Regions from separate parts of the Homo sapiens genome. Here regions 2 and 3 are each linked to region 1. Evidence: promoter capture Hi-C in human tissues and cell types (Jung and others, 2019). All regions are on one chromosome and are shown on one strand. Each heading gives the region's core, a stretch centred on a gene start or on the middle of the fragment in contact. The rest is flanking DNA. Distances are from core to core; before and after follow the strand shown.

What was found. The method cuts DNA at HindIII sites, captures the fragments that hold promoters and counts their contacts. A contact is called where the count stands out against the background at its distance.
Region 2: a contact is called between a fragment that was not itself captured here and the fragment with the promoter of ALX1 in region 1, in 3 of the 25 tissues and cell types used here (H1 embryonic stem cells, bladder and spleen).
Region 3: a fragment that was not itself captured here is called in contact with the fragment with the promoter of ALX1 in region 1 in 3 of the 25 tissues and cell types used here (H1 embryonic stem cells, mesendoderm cells and thymus).

Annotation. Positions count from the first base shown.
Region 1 is chr12:85,278,121-85,282,027 of GRCh38, reverse strand. ALX1 (ALX homeobox 1) reads right to left here and starts at 1,808. Exons shown (of 4, transcript NM_006982.3): 1 at 1,541-1,808. The coding sequence starts at 1,766. RefSeq lists a silencer at 1,423-1,717. The HindIII fragment of the contact is 12,363 bases long and covers 1-3,907 here.
Region 2 is chr12:85,336,640-85,340,546 of GRCh38, reverse strand. The region is part of intron 1 of LINC02820 (long intergenic non-protein coding RNA 2820); the gene reads right to left. Among named protein-coding and RNA genes, the nearest start is that of LINC02820, 21 kb to the right of the region's middle. The HindIII fragment of the contact is 5,488 bases long and covers 1-3,907 here.
Region 3 is chr12:85,225,437-85,229,343 of GRCh38, reverse strand. The region is part of intron 24 of LRRIQ1 (leucine rich repeats and IQ motif containing 1); the gene reads right to left. Among named protein-coding and RNA genes, the nearest start is that of ALX1, 53 kb to the left of the region's middle. The HindIII fragment of the contact is 3,366 bases long and covers 1-3,334 here.

The sequences.
Region 1 (3,907 bases), core at 559-3,058:
TATGTTCATCTTCCTTAACACTTCTTTGTTATAATTCATCTTAATAGTGTGATATTTGTTTAAAAGTTGATAACGCATCAATTATGTCTCTTATTTTGGATTCTCGACTATTCAAAATAAAATATTATGATCAAGTCCATCCAGAGTCAATACAAGACATTGCAGAATCATTAAAGAAAGACCTGTCAATTCAAATAACGTTAGGCATGCACCTAAGAATTCCACAAATACAGATACCAGGTCTGAAACGCAGCCAGAAAACCAACAACTCAGTGTAAGAATAACAAAAAGTATACGCTCGAATCTTTCTAAATAAATGACTGAAACGACTTAGCTGATTATTTTCTCTATCATTTGCACCTTTATTTTTGATTTACCCTTAGTCAAAAGTTACTTGCAACGTTAAATAAAATTAGTTAAATATGAGATTAATAAAAGAAAAAAACTTGTGTTCAAAATATTTAGAAAATGAGCTTCTACAGGCCAGTGTTTTGTCAGATTTTGAATTTCTATAAAATAGGGGGCAGGGGGCTTGTTGTAAATATTTCACACTTAATTCGTTTGTTATTTTAAAGCAACCCGCCCCTTATAGCTTAACTGTGGAATATATACAATGATAAGGAGAAGTTCTCTTGGAATTGTAAACGTGCTTTAGCTGTCGCGATCTGAAATAATAGGTTAGTATTAGGTTACAAGATAGAAAAGATAGATGGTTTGTTTTGATAACATTTTGACTTGGAGATACTTGGGCATTCAAAGTTGAAGATTTCACCCAGAAGCATTCCAAAGACTCCTTAGGTGACTTTTAATGTGAAGTCATAAAAATACAAAACGTAGAATCTGGGAATGAGTGATTAGGCCGGGGATGGTTTGCCCGAAGCTATTTAGTGTGCTTTAGTGTTTAACAAACATTCAACGCGTGTTGTATTGCAAACGCAAAAAAAAGCAGAAATTACAAATTCACACACGCTAGAAATCTAGGGATCCTCAAACTTTGAAAATATATCGCCACGTCTTGGAAAATTAAAAAGATTTATCTTTACCTAAAGGAGCTCAAAGGGTTTTTTGTTTTTTGTTTTTGTTTTCCGGTTTTTTTTTCCCTACTCGTGACGACAGTGACGTACTCTAACGAGCTGTGATCGATTTCAGTTCCTACCGCCCGGACTGCAAGGCGGGCTCGCAGAGGAAGCGTTCTGTCTTGACTCAATTACGCTCTATTTAGCGCCCTATCAGTTTACTCCAGGAACCAATATTACAGAAGGACTCAGGGATCCGTAGGCGACCAGACCCTACAGCGAAAGGAGAATCGCTCAGAGGCAACCCGGTGCTGGATCTCTCCCTCCCTCCGCCCTCCGCCCCCAAAGGCTGCAGCAGCAGTAACACCGCTTCATAAAGCGAGCACCTTCCACTACCTTCCTCCACCTTCCAGGTCCCTCGCTCCCACTTTTCTCCTTTCTCCCTCCCTGCCTGATCAGACCGATCCTGCATTTTCGATTGCGGAAGGGCTGCGGCGGCTCCGGCTGGGGCGCTAGCGACTCACCGCTGCTGTCCTGACAGGGCGAGGTCCTCTCCAAGCGCACGTGATGCTCGGCGCGGGGCAGGGGTCCGAAGGCCTGCACGCATTTGCCTGCAGACGCTTTGCTGTAAAAGGACTCATTGTCCAGCGTCTCCATAACGTGCTCCAGAGGACCTCCTGCGCCCATGTAAAAGTCACTGTTTTTACTCGGAGGGCTCTTGAGGGCAAACTTCTCGCTCAGAAACTCCATAATCCTGGAAGACTGTCGCGTAGCTCCTGGGGCACAGAAACTGGAGAGCGCTGGGGGAGGGAGCCAGTGGGTGGGAGGAGGGAGGGCCAGAGAGGAGGGAAGGGAAAGCGAGCGCTGCGGCGTCGGGAACTGCCCCGCTCCGGTCCCTTTAATACGTCCCGGCTGGAAAAGGAGCACCCGAAGTTGCTTTTATATCTTGAAACTCAGCTGGCCTCCTCGGGCAGCCTCCCAGTTCTAATGAATATGAAAATAGGCGGGCGACTAACTCCACCCCAGGTCCCCCTCCGCCCCTACCCCACCCCCATTTTCCCCACTTACCCGGGCAGAGGGCGTCCAGGCCTAGGATAGACAGACAGACAGCTCCATTTCAGACAAATGCCAGGAGAGACGAGCCCCTGACACCCAGATTCATTGCCGCCGTGACAGTGGACTGGCATTTCGGAAGATCTTGGTGAGATCGCAAAGCAGTTAAACCTCCACTCCCTACTGCCTGCGCCTTCCTGAGCCACCCGTCCCCACCCCGCCCCCATGCCGGCCACTCACTACCAGAAAGATTTAGAGGCGTCTTAAGAACTTGAAAGGAAATATTGCTCTAAAAGGCTTTTATTTCATCCGTAAATCGTTTACGTGGAAGATTCACATTAATCCGAAGCCCAAGGAACCAGATGCATTGGCAACTGTTAATCGCAGCCGCCGTAGTAGAGGGGCCGCTTCGGCTTCTAACCGGGAGGAGCTCGGGGTCCGGGCCAGCTGGGAGCTTTACGAGGCCGTGGCCTTTTCTTTTTCTCTGGAATGCGGCGGAGTGTGGACGCGGTGGCGATGGGTGGGAGAGAGAAGCCGAGCAAGAGGCAATGAAGCCATTATACTAATGCCAACCAATTCCCTACACCCTCTTCGCCACCCTTCCCTTTGGTCCACGATTTTATCATTAGACCCAAATTATTTTAAGAAAACCCGTTAGGATCAGTGCCTTTGAAAGGCTTTTACTCTAATGCCAAAGTGAGGATTGTTACAAATAGGGGTTTATGAAGAAGAGGAATGTCTGCATATTTTTACAGAAATTACTTTTAATTTTAAAGAGTTGCTGTGGAGTTACTCCGAAAAGCGCTCTGGGAGTGAGTGGTGAGCGCGCGGAGCTGCGGGCACTCGCGGCGCGGCGTCCTGGGCGCGGACAGGTCCAAGGCCTCCATTTCCACCAGAGGGGATGGTAGGGCAGGCAGGACAGCACTGCTAGGTTGAAAGCCCTTCTGTGTGACTTTTGGCACGACTCTTGGCTTCCTAGGAGCCCGCGGCGCTTGGGGGAAATGCGTTCGGTGCCCTGGGCACAAAATCGCATTTGCGTCAGGCACCCTAAGCTAGCAAATTTGGTGAAAATAAGCCAGACAGGTTTTGGTCCAGGTAGGCCTCTGCTTAGACGTCCTGACACAGCCTTTGTCAACACTGGCACTCACAGCGGCCGTCGCGTTTCCCCAGACAAGTCTGGCAATTATGGTGAGGCCTCGGGCAGGCCGAGCAGCCCGGACTCTGAGGATGGTGAGGCCAAGCCCAGCTGTGGTGGGCATGCTGATGGGTTTGAGAGTTTCCACCTTCTGCGGGGGTCTTAGCTGACCCACGCCTCTTTGGTGAGACCTTCTTCGAGACCTGACCAGGCCTCAGCCAGAGAGTAACAATCAGGGAGGGCTGTGCACCCCGGAGCTGCTCCTTAGCGTTGCGCGAAAGGCAGGGTCGGCCTTAAGCACCCAGATCCGACCGGCGGATCCCGAGCAGATCAGCTGGCAGCAGCAGCCTTGCTCGCCCGGCCAAAGTCCAACCCAGACTGTTCTCCCAAGGAGGCGCACAAGCTTAGTTCACATGGCGCAGCGCTCAGTGTGGCCTTGAGCGCGCACTCAGATTCAGGCAAGTGGACACTATTCCTGGGACTAACTAGCTTCTGCTGTATTATTATTACTCTCTCCAGAGCAGTGCTGCAAGAACCAACTGCAGATTGTTAAATTTCAGGGGAGCAAGGTCAAAGAAAAGCACTAGGGACTGAGCTTCAGCAGGAAGCCAGGCTGCGTCGGGCCGCAGGAACTCCAAACCAGACAACCTGGCATTCTGAGGTCAGGCCCAGGGGGAGAGAGTGAGGTGTCGGAAGAAGCCAT
Region 2 (3,907 bases), core at 565-3,064, 59 kb before region 1:
AAGAAGATGGGATCTCTGTGAGAGAGGGTGGCAGGCCATTAACAGCGGAATCATGATGGTATTACAGTTCTCTTCATCTATCAATGGCTCCTATTCATTGCATTGACTTTGCATCATTTTCTTCATATACACAACTCCTTATACTAGCTGTCATAATTCTCAATTTACACATGCATAAACAGAGACTTGGGAGTTTAACCAACTCACTCAAGGCTATAGTTAATAAGTAGCAAAACCAGGCATTCAATTCATATGCATTTCAATACAAATTCTAATTCATCTCATTATTCCATTTCATGTTGGCCTATAGAATGAAACAAGTAGAAAGGAAATTCTATTTCATAGATAGTAAACTACCACTTTCCCCAAAAAGTCACTTTTTTTCATTAAAGTAAGGTCTTCTATAATGTTTTCTGCAATAAAAAGTCATATCATAGTATTTTTATATTGGTTAGTTTTATTTCATTGGTTAACTGCAATAAACTGTTCAACTGATGTCTGTGTGATAAAGATGCAACATAATTTACCCTTTTACTACCTCAATGATTTTATGCTTAGTAACTGACCTGAATGTATAGAAAAGTGTTTTATACATTATGTATTATTAAAAAATATATAGGCTGGTATATACTTTAAAATAATCTCAATATGTTAGTAACATATCATCTTATTGAATCATACATTTTATAAATGCTATAACTATATACAATGTGCAAAATATAATACAAATTTTGACTTCAATATTTCTTAAGTAGTTCATATATTTTTCTAAATGAAGTATTTTTTCTATAAATGTAAACTGTTCAATTTTTTATGTTTTCCTCATTTCAGAGATTTTCCTGCAATTTCACTTCAAGTATTGATGCAAGTACAGCTGTGGTTTTTAAGGAGGTGTATACATGACTTATTGTACAAAATTTATCCATCATATGCTATTCACATATTTCAAGAATTAAAATACAGAAGAATGACAGTGGCAAAATGTATTTGACACTCGATAGGACTCCAGGAATGCAACATGCATAAGGAAAAGTTGTAGTCAACCTACCTAAACATCAACATGAGGAATTCCTCTGTATAACCTTCTGTTCAGACAAGCACATCGATGTTTAAGATTTGAGTTCTCAGCTAGGTTTAATATTGAATATACACACTATATTGAAAAGACATTACTAAAACAACTGAAATATAAAAACAGTATAATTTACTTCTCTTTTCATAAATCACTTTTTCTAATGAGTTTGACATTCCTACATTGATCCTCTGGCACAAAAGGACCTTCAGAAAGCACAGAACATTTTATGTTCCTTCTTTAAAAACTTAGTTGATTATCTTTACCCTCAGAATAACATTAATTTTGTTTGTTTGTTTGTTTGTTTGTTTTAGATGGAGTTTTGCTCTTGTTTCCCAGGCTGGAGTGCAATGGCATGATCGCGGCTCACCGCAACCTCCACCTCCCTGGTTCAAGCGATTCTCCTGCCTCAGTCTCCCGAGTAGCTGGGATTACAGGCATGCACCACTACACCTGGCTAATTTTGTATTTTTAGTACAGACGAGGTTTCTCCATGTTGGTCAGGCTGGTCTCGAACTCTGGACCTCAGGTGATCCGCCCGCCTCAGCCTCCCAAAGTGCTGGGACTACAGGCATGAGCCACCGTGCCTGGTCTAAAACTCCTTTCCTACAGCATGCCCAATTCCCTCATGATGGGGCGTAACGCTTTTCCCAAACTTATCTTTCTCTATCATGGAACCACCATCATATTTATTGCACCCCAAACATTGCATATACAATAAAAAATATGTACATATTGTATAAACAAAACATAGAGTCTGCCAATAAAAAGTTAATTAAAATATATCAGAAATGCTAATTATACCCTCAATGCTTACCATGCATCAAATCCTAGCTTAAATGCAATACCTATGAAGTCATTCTATTTAGATCAGGCCTATCTCTTCACTCCCTCCTCTGTACTGCAATCACACTCCCATCAGACCTCTAATGTAATACATTATGCATTCCTTTGAAAGTTTTGGCTACATGCCTTACTCTCTCACTGGACTCTGAGTTCTACCAAGTAGAGACCATGTCTAATTTTTCCTTGGGTCCCTAGAACTCAACATAGAATTAATTCTTAATTTCATATCTGAAAAGATTGTCTTGTTGGAATGAAAACATTTCAGATTTTATAAAAATTGTATGGAATTTATGATATATAATATACAAGATGACAACAGTTTTCTGGGTCTTAAATATAAAATCACCATAGTAATATTTCTGCAGTGAAATATAATATACTAATCATTAGCGCTATTTACCAAATATTTATATTTCTCTTCCCTACTAGACACCCAGTAGGATTATACTTCTTGTGTTGGGGAGGAGCCATGTAACTAGTTCTGGTTGTCAGTGGAATCATGGTGTCATTTCTAAGTTCAAGTATCAATTATTAATGAAAAATCATCCAGAGCTTTCTCTACTCCTCTGACATGACAGCCAGCAGCATTTGTGACGGGCAGTCTATCAACCTAGCTTCTTAGGTGACTATGTCAAACCATAGTGGACACGTTGTTCTAAGCCCCTAGATTTGAGGGTTGTTTGTTACTACAGCATAACCTAGCTCATTCTGACATACACATGTAAGCATTTATACTGAGTTAACAAAAAAGACTATAATTATCATGTTATTTCGGAGCATGTTTTATAATCAAATTGTTTTTTATCATATTGAGTTTTTCTATCAAGTAGATTACAAAAAAAAACTCATTGTCTAAGTTTTTGGTTTTGGGAATTATGAAAAAGATGCTTTGAGTCAATACCCGTCAAACTTATAGCATACAATGTAGCAGGAAACAGCAGGTATTAAATTTTTTTAAAGGTAGAGTGGAATGTCCTTGATCATAAGAACATTAATGTTTTGATATTTATTTGCTTTTATTATTAAAATGTAATATGTAAATTATAAGAAATTAAATACTGTAGATCTACTATATTAATCTCTAGTTTGGTTTTTATGCTGATCGACGTGTAAAATGCAAAGACAAAACAGATTTATATAAGATACAGAAATGTAAGTTATATGAGGAAAATTTCTTACAGCCCTATTTTGAATTCTGTACTTACAAGTAAGATAAGAATATAAATCCTTGTTCTGTCTAAATAATTCTATTAGCTAAATTTATTGACTACCTATTCTGTGTAGGTACTATTTTAAACACTTTATATGTATTAACGTAGTAGGAAAGCATAAAAATTTACTCTGTGGAGTATTATTAAGCTAGTTTTATAATATTGGGTAAGGGAATGGAAGCAAAGAGGAGAGTAACATCTAACATCATAGAAATAGTAAGTGGGTCATATCCAGGTATGCTGACCCCAGAACCTGTGCCCTTAATAACTATATTATGGGAACTATGCAGAAACTCTAGACTTAAGGAAACAAAAAATACCTAGTAACATTACTTTCATTCTGTTTATCATGGAGCTTATTTTTCTTTCTTTCTTTCTTTCTTTTTTTTTTTTTTTTTTTTTGAGACGGAGTCTTGCTCTGTCACCCAGGCTGGAGTGCAGTGGCGCGATCTCGGCTCACTGCAACCTCCGCCTCACGGGTTCATGCCATTCTCCTGCCTCAGCCTCCCGAGCAACTGGGACTACAGGCGCCCACCACCACGCCCAGCTAATTTTTTGTATTTTTAGTACAGACGGGGTTTCACTGTGTTAGCCAGGTTGGTCTCGATCTCCTGACCTCGTGATCCACCCGCCTCGGCCTCCCAAAGTCCTGGGATTACAGGCGTGAGCCACCGTGCCCGGCCGGAGCTTATTTTTCAAAGCTTTGGCCACTTTTCATTTCCCCACTGAAATTCTTCTCAAGTTCTTTGATCCTGAGTTGTTTATTCCAAAATTTAAA
Region 3 (3,907 bases), core at 402-2,901, 53 kb after region 1:
TAACTGTTTTTCCTGCTTAGGTTTCAAACCCATCTATTTTGAAAAAAATACTTAAAATCAATCACCATTTATAGGGTTTGTTTTTGAGTTTTTAATTAGAAAAATCAGAGAGTTATTTTTTGGTAGACTGTAGAATTTTTCTAATATAAAAACATCTGTTCCCTATCTGTCTTTTCAGGATTAAAGTCTAATTGTTTTTATACCACTCTTATCCATATGGAGAATTTATAAATTATATTGAGTGTTTTTGAACCTGAATTTTCATTTACATAAAACTGAGCTTGCTTTGTGTAAGCTACTATAGTATTTCATACATATCAGAGTTACACTGAAGACTAGTTGTTTTAAAGCCTTCCTCCATGGACTTGATCTTTTAGACTGCTCCATTTTTGGTTTAGGGCTTGTTGGCTTCATAAACTTGATTGACAGTACACCAGAGGGAGACACCTCTTAAAACCTAAATCGCAGTAATCAACTCAGAACAATTCTGTAGTTTAAAAACCTGAAAATTTAAAGTCAATTTATTACTTTGAAATATTCTTTTGTTATAGATGTTTGTACATAAAAAGTCTACATATTTGCAAGTTGTTTGGAAAATGAATAAAGCATGGTGCAAAACCTATTTTGAATACTCTGTGCATGTACGTGCAGACACACATACATACAAGCTTAGCATGTGTCATTCAGAATATGTTGTGGATGATATATCTAACATGTCTTTCTTCTTTAAAAGTTACTGTTGTAATTAGTGAAATGACTCTAGTTTTCAATTTAAACAGATGTTGAAGCCAGGTCTCTGGAAAGCGTAAAATCTGGATGCTTTGGGTATCTAAAACTCTGTTACTTAGTAAAGTTCCTATTGCTTCTTATGCGACCTTATGTTTCTAAAATGACTTCAGCCCTTGAAACCTGAACTTAGGCCAACTCTTCCATAGTTGCTACAATTAGAGGAACACTTACTTCACATGAGGGGATTGGCCATTGAATCCATGAGCAGACTCCATTTTCATAAATAGCCTTATAATTATACAAAAGTTCTTTGTAGATTCTGGATATTAGCCCCTTGTCAGATGGGTAGATCGTAAAAATTTTCTCCCATTCTGTAGGTTGCCTGTTCACTCTGATGGTAGTTTCTTTTGCTGTGCAGAAGCTGTTTAGTTTAATTAGATCCCATTGGTCAATTTTGGCTTTTGTTGCCATTGCTTTTGGTGTTTTAGTCATGAAGTCCTTGCCCATGCCTATGTCCTGAATGGTATTGCCAAGGTTTTCTTCTAAGGTTTTTATGGTTTTAGGTCTAATATTTAAGTCTTTAATCCATCTTGAATTGATTTTTGTATAAGGTGTAAGGAAGGGATCCAGTTTCAGCTTTCCACATATTGCTAGCCAGTTTTCCCAGCATCATTTATTAAATAGGGAATCTTTTCCCCATTTCTTGTTTTTGTCAGGTTTGTCAAAGATCAGATGGTTGTAGATGTGTGGTATTATTGCTGAGGGCTCTATTCTGTTCCATTAGTCTATATCTCTGTTTTGGTACCAGTACCATGCTGTTGTGGTTATTGTAGCCTTGTAGTATAGTTTGAAGTCAGGTAGCGTGATGCCTCCAGCTTTGTTCTTTTGGCTTAGGATTGTGTTGGCAATGCGGGCTCTTTTTTGGTTCCATATGAACTTTAAAGTAGGTTTTTCCATTTCTGTGAAGAAAGTCATTGGTAGCTTGATGGGGATGGCATTGAATCTATAAATTACCTTGGGCAGTATGGCCATTTTCACGATACTGATTCTTCCTATTCATGAGAACTTAAACAAATTTACAAGAAAAAATCAAACAACCCCATCAAAAAGTGGGCGAAGGATATGAACAGATACTTCTCAAAAGAAGACATTTATGCAGCCAATAGACAAATGAAAAAATGCTCATCATCATTGGCCATCAGAGAAATGCAAATCTACCTAATACTAAATGACGAGTTAATGGGTGCAGCACACCAACATGGCACATGTATACATATGTAACAAACCTGCACATTGTGCACATGTACCCTAAAACTTACAGTATATAAAAAAAAAGAAATGCAAATCAAAACCACAATGAGATACCATCTCACACCAGTTAGAATGGTGATCATTAAAAAGTCAGGCAACAACAGGTGCTGGAGAGGATGTGAAGAAATAGGAACACTTTTACACTGTTGGTGGGACTGTAAACTAGTTCAACCATTGTGGAAGACAGTGTGGCGATTCCTCAAGGATCTAGAACTAGAAATACCATTTGAAATACCATTTGACCCAGACATCCCATTACTGGGCATATACCCAAAGGATTATAAATCATGCTGCTATAAAGACACATGCACATGTATGTTTATTGTGGCACTATTCCCAATAGCAAAGACTTAGAACCAATCCAAATGTCCATCAATGATAGACTGGATTAAGAAAATGTGGCACATATACACCATGGAATACTATGCAGCCATAAAAAAGGATGAGTTCATGTCCTTTATAGGGACATGGATGCAGCTGGAAACCATCATTCTGAGCAAACTATCACAAGGACAGAAAACCAAACACCGCATGTTCTCACTCATAGGTGGGAATTGAACAATGGGAACACATGGAAAAGATGGGGAATATCACACACCGGGGCCTGCTGGGGGGTGGGGGGAGGGGGGAGGGATGGCATTAGGAGATATACCTAATGTAAATGACGAGTTAATGGGTGCAGCACACCAACATGGCACATGTATACATATGTAACAAACCTGCACGTTGTGCACATGTACCCTAGAACTTAAAGTAAAAAAAAAAAAAAAAAGGAAGTAGAAAAAAAATAATTATACAAAAGTTATAAGACACACTCAAACAAAGGGAAGATTTGGCATTGCTACACACTGCATTGGGTCTCCTTTCTAGCAAAACCCCAGCTACTGATCTGGTTTCCTTAGTGACCAGGCCAGATGTTGGACAGCACAGTGACAGAAAACAGTGATGACTCAGTGACCCTGATGATCAACTGAGCCCAAGACTTGAAACTCACCTACTCCTGATATGGAGAGAATCCTTTTGTAATAAGCAAACTTTTAGTTAAAACAGAAATAATCTCAGTCTTCCTGTTCTTAAAAATAGTGACATATACTTGCAATGGTCACTTTTTAAAGTACTCATTTTGGAAAGCTTTCCTCAATTCTACAATAACACTTCATAAACACTAAGTAATTTTACATCAAAACTCAGCCAAAGTTCTAAACAATTCCTGAGTAAAAAGGAGAGATTTAATCATAAGGATCCAATTCTTATTAACCATTTTAACCCCAAGGCATAAATTGGTAGATTGGCATGAGCTCAGTGTAAGAAACAGAACAAGCATAGTGGTGAAATTGGCTGGATGTACTTGAAAATACTGCAATTCAAATGTTAGAGGAAGTGGTTCTGTCTCAGCAAAATCATTTCAGAATTACTCCTGTTACTGAGGAAGAGAAAGTAACATTTATTCTTGGAAGCTTCAGAAGTCCTTCTTTTAGCAACTTGTGTAGGAAGAATAAGGGTGACCTGGATAAATTAACGGATACTTATCAGTTTCCAGTTAGGCTGCCCAGTAATTCCTTCCTTTCAATATTAGAAGAAGCAACCTTCTGCCTGCAGAACACTAATCCCTTTGTCCACAATTCCTTGCTACTTCTATGGGTCTTGCATCATCAATTCCCTATATTATCAACCTAAGAAAAATGCCTTCCTTTGATTCTTGCTGTCCTCCAGTTACTACTGTTTATATATGCTTTTTACTTCAAAACACAACCTTAAGTAATTTTATTTAAACATTTTTTGACCTTTTATTATAAAAATAATACATACTCATTATAGGAAATTTAGAAAGTAAAAAGTCAAAGAAAAGACAATCTGCAACCACCAT